Regions from separate parts of the Homo sapiens genome. Here region 1 is linked to region 2. Evidence: promoter capture Hi-C in 16 types of primary human blood cells and fetal thymus (Javierre and others, 2016). All regions are on one chromosome and are shown on one strand. Each heading gives the region's core, a stretch centred on a gene start or on the middle of the fragment in contact. The rest is flanking DNA. Distances are from core to core; before and after follow the strand shown.

Region 1 (7,046 bases), core at 3,286-5,785, 170 kb before region 2:
AAAGACTTGGCCGGGTGCAGTGGCTCATGCTTGTAATCCCAGCACTTTGGGAGGCACAATCTCAGCTCACTGCAGCCTCAACCTCCTGTGCTCAAGTGATCCTCCTACCTCAGCCTCTGGTGTAGCTGGAACTACAGGTGTGCACCATTAGTCAGGATAATTTTTTATTTTTTGTAGAGATGGGGGTCTCACTATGTTGCCCAGGCTGGTCTCGAACTCCTAGGCTCAAGTGATCCTCCTGTCTTGGCCTCCCAAAGTTCTGGGATTACAGGTGTGAGCCATCACACCCAGCCCCAGTCCTTATTTTTTCACTAATATTACCTTTCCTCTCCAAGCTACCTGGACTCAAAATCTCAGTTGTCTTTGACAATTACTTTTTCTTGTCCTCAAGTAATAAAGAATGATCATATCCATAATTTAATATTTGATATCATTTTAAGAATGTATGTCCTGGCAGGGCATGGTGGCTCACACCTAAAATCCCAGCACTTTGCAGAGCCGAGGTGGGAGAATCATTTGAGCTAAGGAGTTCGAGACCAGCCTGGGCAAGATACCGAGACCTCGCTTCTGTAAAATTAAAAAAAAGAAAAAAAAGAATGTATGTCCTACTGGTTTTCAAAGACTGAATCTATCATATATATAAAAACACCTTAAGGGGAAGGGGGGTTTGAGAATGTAGGACCTCTGGCCCCTATCCTCGAGACCCAGCTTCACAATCTCCTTTTTTTTTTTTTTTTTTTGAGACAGAGTCTTGTTCTGTCGCCTAGGCTGGAGTGCAGTGTCACGATCTCGGCTCACTGCAAGCTCTGCCTCCCGGGTTCACGCCATTCTCCTGCCTCAGCCTCCCGAGTAGCTGGGACTACAGGAGCCCACCACCACGCCTGGCTAATTTTTTTGTATTTTTAGTAGAGACGGGGTTTTACCGTGTTAGCCAGGATGGTCTCGATCTCCTGACCTCGTGATCTGCCCGCCTTGGCCTCCCAAAGTGCTGGGATTACAGGCGTGAGCCACCGCACCTGGCCCACAATCTCCATTTTTAACGAGCTCCTTAAGTAACTCTGATGTACACCAAAGTTGGTGCCATTGGTTTGTGTGTATGTATCTATCTATATACATATGTGTGTATATATCATGTGTCATAAGTGTAAATAATAAAGAAAGAATAATGGGAGAAAAAGCCCCAAATGTAAGCAGTCTATAAGAAATTCACTTTACATTTAAAGAATTAGGTTAAAAATTAAAGAATGAAGATATACCATGCAAACACTAAGCAAAATAAAACTGGAGTAGCTATATTAATTTCAGAAAAAAAGTCTTTGAACAAAAGAGGCATTACATAATAATAAAATGGTCAATTCTCCAGGAAGACATACCATCCTAAACATGCATGCAACAACAGAGCCTAAAAATCCATGAAAGAAAACTAGTAAAACTGATAGGAGACACAGAAAAATCCACAAGTGAGAGATTTCAATACCCTTCTTTCAGTAATTTAAAGATCAGACAGAAAATTAGTAAGATACAGATGACCTTAACAGTACTATCAACCAATTTGACCTAATGGACATTTACAAAACACTTCACCCAACAGCAGCAGAATACATTCTGCCTAAGTGCACATGGAACATTCATCAAGATATCACATTTTGAGGCTGGGCATGACGGCTCACACCTGTAATTCCAATGCTTTGGGAGGCTGAGGCGAGTGGATCACCTGAGGTCAGGAGTTCAAGACTAGCCGGACCAACATGGTGAAACCCTGTCTCTACCAAAAATACAAAATTAGCCAGGCATGGTGGCACATGCCTGTAATCCCAGCTACTTGGGAGGCTGAGGCAGGAGAATTGCTTGAACCCAGGAGGTGGAGGTTGCAGTGAGCTGAGATTGTGCCATTGCACTCCAGCCTGGGCAACAACAGCGAAACTCCATCTGAAAAAAAAAAAAAGATATCACATTTTAGATGATAAAATACACTCAACACATTTAAAAGAATAGAAATCATACAAAATGCATTCTCAGACAAAAAAAAAATTAAGCTAGAAATCAGTAACAGAAAGATAGCTGAAAAGTTCCCAGATATTTGGAAATTAAACAATACAGTTCTAAATAACTCACAGGTCAAAGAATAAGTCTAGAAATTAAAACATATTTTGAACTAAATGAAAATTAAAATACATCTTATCAAAATTTGTGGAATGCAGTGAAAGCAGTGCTGAGGGGGAAAATTATGGCATTATATGCATATATTAGAAATGAAAGATATAAAATGATACCAACTGCCTATAACCTTTCCCAGAAAGTGGAAAAGAATGAAACAATTCCCAACTTATTTTATGAGGCCAGCATTACCGTAATACCAAGTCCAGACAAAACATTACAAGAAAATGACAAATACCTCTCATGAACATAGGTGCAAAAATTCTTAACAAAGTATTAGCAAATTTAATCCAACAATATAAAAAATAATAATATATCAAGAACAAGTGGGATTCATCCCAAGAATGAAAGTCTGTTCTATCATTTATAAATCAATTAATGTAATTCATCATATTAACAGACTAAATAGCAACCATATGATCCTATTAATACATACAGAAAAAAGCTGACAAAATCTAACATCCATGCATGATAAAAATGTTTGACAAACTAGGAATGGAGGGGAATTTCCTCAATTTGATAAAGAACATCTATTTTTTTTTTTTAGATGGAGTCTCGCTCTGTCACCCAGGCTGGAGTGCAGTGGCGTGATCTCGTCTCACTGCAAGCTCCGCCTCCAGGGTTCACGCCATTCTCCTGCCTCAGCCTCCCGAGTACCTGGACTACAGGTGCCCGCCACCATGCCCGGCTATTTTTTTACATTTTTAGTAGAGATGGGGTTTCACTGTGTTAGCCAGGATGGTCTCGATCTCCTGACCTCATGATCCACCCACCTCGGCCTCCCAGAGTGCTGGGATTACAGTCGTGAGCCACCGCACCTGGCCAAGAACATCTATTTAAAAAAAAAAACAAAAAACCTACAACTAACATCATACTTCATGGTGAGAAACTTGGAGCTTTCTGCTAAGATCAGAAACAAGGAAAAAAACAAAAAGACAAATAACAACAAAAAAAGGCAAGAACGTTTCATCTCAGCACTGCATTCCAACATATTGGAAGTCCTAGATAATGCAATAAAGCAAGAAAAGGAAATAAACTGTATATGGATTGGGAAGAAAGAAATAAAAGTGTCTTTGTAGTTAACATAATTTTCTATGCAGAAAATCTGAAATAATTGACAAAAAACTGCTGGAACTGGAACTAATAAACAATTATAGCAGGGTTGCAGGATACAAAATTAATATACAAAAATTAATTGCTTTCCTATATACCAGCAATGAACAAGTAGAATTTGAAATTTATAACAGATCAAGGAGCATGATTGCTGGATTGTATGGTAAGAGTATATTTAGTTTTGTAAGAAACTACCAAATTGTCTTCCAAACTGACTGTACCATTTTTATTCCCACCTTCAATGAAATGGAGTTCCTGTTGCTCTACAGCATTTGGTATTATCAGTGTTTTGGATTTTGGACATTCTAACAGGTGTGTAGTAGTATCTTGTTGTTGTTTTAATTTGCAATTCCTTAATGACATATGATGTCAAATATCTTTTCATATGCACATTTACATTAGCACCCCCCAAAATAAAATACTTAAGTATAAATTTAACAAGATAAGTACAAGTTCTATATAAAGAAAACTACAAAACTTTGATGGAAGATATCAAATAATAACTAAATAAATGAAGAAATAGTCCATGTTCATGGATAAGAAGAATCAATATTGTCAAGCTGTCAGTTCTTCCCAAATTCTTCTATAGCTTGAATACAATCCCAATCAAAATCCCAGCAAATTATTTTGTGGATATCAATAAACTGATTCTAAAGTATTTATGGAGAAGCAAAAGGCCCAGAATAGCCAACTTGGTATTGGAAAGGAAGAACAAAGAGGTTGACGCTACCAAATTTCAAGACTTACTATAAAGCTACAGTAATCAAGACTGTGTGGTATTGGTGAAAGGGTAGACAAATAGATCAATGGGACAGTAGAGATAGCCCAGAAATAGACTCACATAAATAGTCAACTGATGTTTGGTAAAGGAGCAAATGCAATACCATGGAGCAAAGATGGTCTTTTCAACAAATAATACTGGAATAACCAGACATACACATGCAGAAACAAACAAACAAACAAACAAAAAACAAAAAAAACACCCAGACCTTACACCCTTCAAAAAATTAACTCGAAATGGATCAGAGACTTAAATGTAAAACACAAAATGATAAAACTCCTAGAAGATAACATAGGAGAAAATCTAGATGACATTGGATATGATGATGACCTTTTAGATACAATACCAAAGGTATGATCCATGGAATAATTGATAAGCTGGACTTCATTAAAATTAAAAAGCTTTCAACTTCATTCTTAATTAAATAAGTTCCTGCTTTCCTGCTCTGGTGCTGAATTCCTGGCTTGGCGCCCTAAGCACATGATTCTTCCATGCCACTCCCAGGGAAGTTCAAGTTTTCTGACCTGGCTATGCCTGTTTAATCCTACTCTCCTGGCTGGGAGACAAGGAAGCTTGTCCAGCAGGTGTTGATACCTGGGGGTTGAGGCTGGCAGAAGGAAGGTCTTATGGGTAAGTGAGCCAATCCGATGGAGAAGAGCAAGTTGGAAAATCAAGTGAGGCAGGTAGAAGTTGGTAAACCAGAGAAGCAGAGCCAAACGGGTCAGGAAAGGAAGAAGGGCTGGAGCCCAAAGCCAAGAATATAAGCACATGGAGGGCAGGGAACCATATAGAGAAGGCTAAACCATGAGCTGGTTTGGATAAATATTGGAAACAGACGCCTTTTGCCTGTTTTCTGTGTGATGTATGAATAGATCTGCCCCAATTTAAAGAACCAACAATGAGTATAAAATGCTCACTGACTTCAGTCCTACCCAGTCCAGACCATGGGTCCCAACATCTATGGGAGGTAGTATAGTAAAATGGAAAGAATATGAGCTTTGGAATAAGACCAGGGCTTAAATTCTGGCTCTTTGTCTTAGTAGCTGTGTGACCGTGGGCAAGTTACTCTCAGCTTCAGCTTTTTTATATGAAAAAGAGAGACAGAATCTACCTCACAGAGTCATTGTGATGATAAAATGAATCTATATTAATGATCCAAGATGGCCCTTGGTATCTCATAAGCACTCAACAGATGATAGCCCTCTTCCTTCAAAGGCATCTATCATAACTGGCCTTGTATTTCTATTTAGTTGAATGAAGCATGTCTCTATCTTTAGCCAGATCTTAAACTTGTTGAGGGCACACACTGTGTGTGAATCATTTTCATACATATTTACTTTTTAAAGCAATGTATTTTTCTGATTACAAATATCGTGTAAATTTATACAAAATCTAAATGTTGCAAAACACTAAACACAGGAGAAATCTCTAGTATTCTCTCCCACCTTCCCAAACAGAACTGCTGAAAAAAGCTTGAAACATTTTCCTCTACCCCCCCATATTGTTGGTTTTGTATTTTACAAAAATGGGATCATTGTTAACATATGATTCTCAAAATAAATCTAAAACAAATAAACATAAGTTTCATACAAATAGAGAATTCATATGTATCAAAGATTTATTTAACTCATTGAGGAGGAAACCAGTAAGGTGGCAGCCAACTCAAAAGAGGATATGAAAACAGGTATTTTATATATAGTCAGTAAAAACACCAAAGGAATGCTAAAATAAGATTGCTAAATTAGAATCAAAGCTGGTTAATGTTCTACAGGGCAATAAGAACCAAAATAGTGGTGTCTTTTAAAAAATAATTTAATGAACATATAGTTTAAGATATAGTTTCATTTCTACAAAGATGCATTTAAAATTACAATTTTAGAGCCAAGACAGTTCTATTAAATCAATTGTCAATATTAACATAATTGATTGTTTCATCCAATAATGTTATATTCCAGGTTTTTCTTTTAAAAAAGACTACTTTTAAGAGCAGTTTTAGGTTCACAGCAAAACTGAAAGGAAGGTAGGAAGATTTTCCATATATCCCCTCCCCCCACAAGTGCATAGCCTCCCTCTTCATCAACATCCCTCATCAGAGTAGTGCATTTGTTACAATTGATGAAGATACATTGACACATCATAATCACCCAAAGTTCATAGTTTACATTAAGGTTCACTCTTGATGTTGTACATTCTATGGGTTTGGACAAATATGTAATGATATGTACCCACCAATGTAGTATCCTACAGAGTAATTTCACTGCCCTGAAAAATCCTCTGTGCTCCACTTATTCATCCCTCCCCTTCTCCCTGTGGTGTCTTCTTTAGGTGGACAGAAAACAATGTCACTGCATCTTGCCAGTTTTACAGAATTGTAAAATCACTGGAATCTCATCAATTGTGTTAAATTGCAATTATCTAGACCTAGAGAGTCAGATGACCCTCAGAGAGGCCTGTTAAAAAAATTATCTTAACATGACATTAAAGCATCAAGTAGTCATCTTTCCTTTTGTATTTGTTTCCTAGTGCTGCTGTAACAAATTACCAAAAACTAGGTGGCTTAAAACAACACACATTTATTCTCTTAACAGTTCTGGAGATCAGAAGTTAGAAATCTGTTTCACAAGGGCTGAAACAGCCATGTCAGAAGGGCCATGTTCCTTTTGGAGGTTCTATGAGAGAATATTTCCATGCTTTTTCCAGCTTCTGAAGCTGCTTTCTCGCATTCCTTGGTTCGTGGCCTCTTCCTCCATCTTTAAAACCAACAGCATAGCATCCTCAAATCTCTCTGCCTCCATCTTCGCATCACCTTTTCTCTTATAAGGATCCTTGGGATTACACCAGGCACACCTGGATAATTCAAGGTAACTCCCCTATTTCAAGGTAAACTGATTTGCAACCTTAATTCCCCCAGCTATGTAACATAACATATTCACAGGTTCTGAGGAGCAGGACATGGAGATCTTAAGTAGGGGTAGTCATTATTCTTCCCGTCTTA
Region 2 (6,793 bases), core at 3,771-6,270:
TTTTTTTTTTGAGACAGAGTCTGGCTCTGTCACCAGGCTGGAGTGCAGTGGCACGATCTCGGCTCACTGCAACCTCTGCCTCCCAGGTTCAAGCGATTCTCCTGCCTCAGCCTCCCAAGTAGCTGGGACTACAGGCGCGTGCCGCCATGCCCAGCTAATTTTTGTATTTTTAGTAGAAACAGGGTTTCACCATGTTGGCCAAGATGGTCTCAATCTCCTGACCTCGTGATCTGCCCACCTCGGCCTCCCAAAGTGTTGGAATTACAGGCATGAGCCACCACACCTGGCCAAAAACTGCTATAATTCTAATATGACTTAGTATATGTTATCAGTAATAATTATAATTATTACGTTAAATGACTGTGTGCCACAGAGGTAAATTTCCTTGTCAATTGTGCCTTTAACTGTGGCTGCCCTAAAATGTTTTTGTCATCCACAGACAATTGTTGTCTCACTTTGGTCCTCTTTAAAAGATGATTTTATAATCAGCTATAAAATTTAACAGGTGCTCCTAAATGTGAGTTTCTGATTAATTACTCTGGGAGATTGTAAAATTAGAATTGAAAAATACTTTCAAATAGAAGAGTGAATGGTGTTTGGTTTTCTTTGGACTGTATTTGTATAAATATGTTATTGGTATGTGTTCCAAAATTACGGGAAACTTCTATAATGTTGATATAATTTAGTGTACATTATCAATAATCATAATTGATATGTAAAATTGTTGTATGCCACAGAAGTAACCAAAATTCCTAGCCAATTGTAGCTTTAATAGTGGCTATAGACTTTTGTCATCCACAGACATTTTGTCTTCCTTTGGTCCTTTTCAAAAGGCAGTTTATAATCAGATATAGGACTCTGAATGCAGGTCTCAGATAACTTTAAAAATTGAGCTATTGGAATAGAGGAAAAACCAATCTTCTAGGACTCTCATGGAGAGCTAATGTATTAAACATTGCTAGACCCTTTGTTTTCAGAGTCAAGAGAACTTATTTCTTTAGAGCTATTTGCAACTGTTAACAAGTGAGTAAAATATACTGCTGTGGACAAAATTTGGAGCATATTTGTTCCTCTCTACCTGATTTCTCCAGAATTTGGAAACTATCTGTGAGTATTCTCAATTTATGGCAGTATAGTTAATTGCATAAATTCAATAAGAATTTGTTTTCTTTTGTAACAGGACACAATTGGAGAAATTGGTTACTTTACCAAGGCTTTGACTGGAATGGCATGCTTCCTTTAAATAATCAAAGTTGACTTATAGAGCAAATTAAAGCCCATTGAGGCATCTGGCCTCATACCTTATCCACACAGAGTCCCTGTGCAAGGTTCCTGTCCTGTGGTAAGTAAAGAATGTCACTTTCTAACAGGCCCAGGAACCCCAAGTTATCTTGGGACCTCAAGAGGAGAGGAATTTGCCCAACTCATAGGTATTTGAGGGTGCAAACCCACGGCTGGGCTCGGCTTTTAAAACATCTTATCTGAGATTCTTCATGGAACAGAGTTCTAGCAAAGCCAATTAAAAAACCCTAAGTGAAAAATATTCTTGCTGCACTTTATGCAAATAATCAGGCCACATACAGTAAGACTAAAGCTTATTTTGTAAACAAATCAGTTCTATCATGTTGTTTTTAATAAAAATGGGGACTGGAGAGAGAAAAATTATGCTTCAAAAAACTATAGTACACTGTTGTTAGCTGTTCTTGAGTTTTTTTCTGCAGTTTAGACTAAATTCTAAATTGTTTGTGGGTTAGAAGTCCCCAAACTAATGCTTTCAAATCTCTGCTTTTAAAATTGGGAATTGTACTCCTCATCCTAGGACTCATTATTTACCTTATAAGGTAAAATAGGCTGTTCACTTAAACACTGTAGTAAAACTATAGATGAGAGTACTAATGTTTTTGCCATACAAGCCTTGGAAGCTCAACCAGGCCGGCATGAGTATGCTCAGACAATTAATTGTAAAGCAGTTCCACTCTTCTCACCTTGGGGTTCACTCCCAATCCCACTACATCCCCTGTCAGCAGGAAGAGGCCAGAGTGATTGATGGCCTTTTCCCATCTTCATAGCCTATACCTTAAGATTAAGGTATTATAAAACCCAAAGGGAGGGATTGAAACCGCCTTTGTAAAATTATGACTGAGAGAGTGAAAGAGATCTAACTTAGCTGACTCCATCTTGCTTCTAACCTCCAAGCTGTTCTTGTTCATTCCTGGGGGTAGGCTGAACTAACTTCGGGAGAAATGTAGTTTATAGTTTATAGTTTAAACAAATATGGTAACAGCCCTTTCCCAAAGCAGACCTCCTTCCTGCCTGGCGACTAGATTGCCTTTGTAGGACTAACATTAGCCACAAGATCAGAAATTATGGTTTAGGGGTCATGCAGCTGGAGGCTATAAGATTCTGAGCCTCCCTAAACTGCTCCAAAGATCAGTGTTTGAGATATTTTGTAGACCCTGCACTTGATAAATCAGCTGGCACCACCCAGATCAATAAACTGGCTCATGTGATCTTATGGCCCCCACCCAGGAACTGACTCAGCACAAGAAAACAGCTTTGACTCCCTATGATTTCATCCTTGACCAATCAGCACTCCTGGCTCACTGGCTTTCCCCGACCTACCAAGTTATCCTTAAAAACTCTGCTCCCCGGCCAGGCATGGTGGCTCACACCTGTAATCCCAGCACTTTGGGAGGCCGAGGCGGGCAAATCACCTGAGGTTAGGAGTTCGAGACCAGCCTGGCCAATATGGTGAAACCCTGTCTCTACTAAAAATACAAAAATTATCCAGGTGTGGTGGCATATGCCTGTAATCCCAGCTACTGGGGAGGCTGAGGCAGGAAAATCACTTGAACCCAGGAGGTGGAGGTTGCAGCAAGCCTAGATTGCACCACTGCACTCCAGCCTGAGCGACAGAGCAAGACTTTGTCTCAAAAAAGCACAACAAAACAAGCAAACAAAAAACTTTGCTCCCCAAATGGTCAGGGAGACTGATTTGAGTAATAAAACTCTGGTCTCCCGCATGTGGGCTCTGCGTGAATTACTCTTTCTCTGTTGCAATTCCCCTGTCTTGATGAATGGGCTCTGTCTAGGCAGCGGGCAAGGTGAACCCCTTGGGAGGTTACAGTTTCACCATGCTGGTCAGGCTGGTCTTGAACTCCTGACTTCAGGTGATCTGCCTGCCTCGGCCTCCCAAATTGCTGAGATTATAGGCGTGAGCCACCACGCCTGGCCATGCATCACATTTTTATTTGTAAAAGTAAAAACCATGGAAACAACATCAATATCTAGCAATAGGATGCAAAATGAATGAGAACTATAGTACATTCAAGTGATGCTAAAGTTTTATACAATCATTAAAAATGATTGTTTAGGGCTGAGCATGGTGGCTCATGCCTGTAATCCCAATGCTTTGGCAGGCCAAGGCAGGAGGATCGCTGGAGCCCAGGAGTTCAAGACCAGCCTGGTTGACATAAGGTAGCCCCATGTCTACAGAAAATAAAAAATAAATTACCCGGGTGTGGTGACACGTGCCTGTAGTCCCAGCTACTTGAGAGACTTGTAGTCCCAGCTACAAGAGAGAGCCTCTCACTTGAGCCCACGAGGTTGAGGTTGCAGAGGGAGACCCTCTGCAGGGTCTCAAAAAAAAAAAAAATCGTGTAGGGCTGGGCTCCGTGGCTCATGCCTGTAATCGCAACACTCTGGGAGGCCGAGGCGGAAGGATCCCTTGAATCCAGGAGTTAGAAATCAGCCTGGACAACATCACAAGGCTCTGACTCCACAAAAAATAAAAAAATTAGCCAGGCATGGCGGCATGTGCCTGTGATCCCAGCTACTCCGGAGGCTGAGATGGAGGATCACTTGAGTGAGACTTTGTCTCTAAACAAAACAAAACTCTGTGTGTGTGTGCGTGAGCATTTACAGTGCTAAACAACTTTAAGTACCACACTAATAGTGAAAAATATTACAGGAGAGGCAGCAGAGCAATTGTTAAGAGCCTGGGCCCTAGAAATGACTGCCTAGGTTTGAGGCCTGGCTCTCCACTTACTAGCTGTATACTCCTGGGCAAGTTACCTACCTTCCCAGCCCCTCAATGTGCCCATTCATAGCATGGGGACTCATACCTAGTCCATAGTGTTGCTGTAAAGATTAAATTAGTTAATACAAGTAGAGGGCAGCGTCTAGCATCTAGTAAACAGTTGACAATTATTGGTTATTGTTATAGAAAATTGGAGGAGGGAGAAATCATATCTAACTGACAATGGATCAGGAAAGGCTTTATAGAGGAGGTGACATTAAAGAAAAGGTTTAATGCTAATGAAGAGTGATGGTGGGGGGCGGGGTCAAAAGATAGGGAGTTAAAGGTAGAGGAGGTGGTAAGGCGTAGGTTGTGTGAGGCCGTGAGTAGATAGATGAGTGGTGGCGTGTGGCAGTGGGAGCCATTGAAAACTAAATCTCCAAAGAGAGACAGGGGTCAAAATGTGGAGGGCCTTGAATTCCAAATTTAAAACTGGAGTTAACCACTGGCTATGAGAGTCATTAAAGATTTCTGAGCAAGAGAAAGAGGAAGCCTTCTTTGGCAGCATTGAAGGCTGACAAATTTGCAGTTTTATCCTTGAGTGTTACGAACTTCAGAAACAACTCTCTGAGGGCTAATATTTTGATTTAGGAAAAGGAAAGGGGGACACAAAGGAAGAGATGGAAAAAGGGAGTGAATAACTGAAGGATGATAAGTGGGAGGGGGAGATGAAAAGTGAGCCCGGTGGGAAGGTGGCAGCAAAGCCTGTCTTCCCTAATTCCTCATTCCTGGGGTCACTTGGTGACTGAACTCATACATAACCTCCCTTCTCCCCATTTAAGATTTGAAGTTTCCGTCTTTCCTTTAGGGCTTCATTTAACTTCGAGACTGTCCTTTTGGCCTGTGAGCACACGTAGGGCATTAGGACCCAGCGTTTGTTGTAGTGAGAGTGGTTGAATCTCGATCTCTCAATTTTTCTCTCGAGCTCCCTCCTCTCCCTTTGTCATTCTAGCTGCCTGCTGCCTCCGCAGCGTCCCCCCAGCTCTCCCTGTGCTAACTGCCTGCACCTTGGACAGAGCGGGTGCGCAAATCAGAAGGATTAGTTGGGACCTGCCTTGGCGACCCCATGGCATCCCCCAGAACCGTAACTATTGTGGCCCTCTCAGTGGCCCTGGGACTCTTCTTTGTTTTCATGGGGACTATCAAGCTGACCCCCAGGCTCAGCAAGGATGCCTACAGTGAGATGGTAAGTGAAGCAAACGGGTGATGAGGAGCGCACTCCCATGGGATTGCGAGGACCTCTCCCCTTTTTTCCTTCTCAGTTTCTGGTCCCACCCCCTTAGCCCCTATCCCCACCTGGACCCTCCGTTCTCAACAACTTTGCAGCTCGGAAGGAGCAGCTGGGCAAGAGCGATTTCTTTTGTGGGCTATGCTGTTCTGGAGCCACTGAATGCCAGTTGGGGGAGGGGTTGCGCAGCGAATACCCCCCATCCCAAGTAAACCAGAAGGCTGAGACCTGCGTAGCACCTGTCATTGGCAGGAGCCCTTCCCTCCTTCCAGCACACACCCAAAGTCCGGGCAACCAGTATACAAGTCTGATTCCCTCCCTGTGAGCTAAGAGTTTAGCAAGCGGAGAGTTTATTTATTTTAGAGCAGAACAAAAGGGAAAGAGGAAAAGAGCTGGGAAAAATGGGCTACTAAAACAAGCAATTTTTAGGGGCTGACTGGTATTCCTCATCCCAGGCAGACAGCTGATAGTATTCCTCCAGCCACCTGGGTATGTATCTGGATCCTTGAGACAAAGCATTCTTGGCCCAAATAAAGGTCACTAAGCTCTTGTTTCTTCCCCTTCTCTCAAGGGAGAGCTAGATGTTTTGTTTTATTTTGTTTTGTGTGTGGGGTAATCTACAAAATCTGCAAAGTCTGCTTTTTCTCTCCCGCAAACAGTCCGTAATCCCCACCTTGCCTTCTGTGGATGACCAGAGCCAGGCCCTCTGCAGGTTTTCCCCTCTGCAGAGTTGGAATCAATCACGGAAGGTGACTGGCCAAAACATCTCCTCTGCAACCTGGGGGCTGGGCTGCTTTCCCCAGTTGGGCGTGATGAGGACTTGCTCTTATGCTGTGGAGTACTAGGAGATGGCAGGGAATGTTTCCAGCACTTTCGGGTCTGTCCCTTCTTCCCCTGTCACTTTGCCTCTTCTTTTCCCCACCCCAGCTGCTTCTCGTCGCCTTTGCCAGACTTCCAATAATGGGAAGGAGCACATCATTGGGCTCTCAAGGTCAAGAGAGAAAGGAGCTTAGGGGAGGAACAGAAGGGGAAAGAGAAAAGAGGCAAGCCCTTTTAGGGCTGAGGCAGGGAGGAACAGCCTCACACATTGCGAGGAATTCATAGCTCTCCTGAACCCACTGCAGAGCTTTCCAGGGCCCCTTAACGTGAGCTGCAAATGGATGGAGACTGGCAAATTATATTAATAGATGCTCAGAAAATGTTTGCAGGCAGCTCTGGCTTCTGTCTCAGGGTTTAAGCTGGAGCTTTCCATTTCTTCCTCACCGCAGGATCACCCTAGGGTTGGGGAGGGTGACAAGGGCTTAGGTCTAGCCCCAGTGGCAAATCCTTACATGCTTCTCCTTCTCCCTTCCCCTCCTCCCAGCATGTTTGACCAGATGGAATTGAAATCAGGTCAAAATGAGTACCCGAGGCAGCCTGCACTGGGAGAAGAGGGACAGGGTGGGGTAGCAGAAGCCACCAAATGGCTTGAAGAGGTTGGGACAGAG

What was found. Contacts are between HindIII fragments. The CHiCAGO score rates a contact against its expected background, and 5 or more counts as called.
Region 1: a fragment that was not itself captured here is called in contact with the fragment with the promoter of TMEM35A in region 2 in 1 of 17 cell types (naive B cells); the score reaches 5.4 in naive B cells.

Annotation. Positions count from the first base shown.
Region 1 is chrX:100,900,068-100,907,113 of GRCh38, forward strand. It overlaps a transcript of XKRX not described here. Among named protein-coding and RNA genes, the nearest start is that of XKRX, 25 kb to the right of the region's middle. The HindIII fragment of the contact is 171 bases long and covers 4,451-4,621 here.
Region 2 is chrX:101,073,859-101,080,651 of GRCh38, forward strand. TMEM35A (transmembrane protein 35A) reads left to right here and starts at 5,021. Exons shown (of 2, transcript NM_021637.3): 1 at 5,021-5,264. The coding sequence starts at 5,145. The HindIII fragment of the contact is 5,349 bases long and covers 1,593-6,793 here.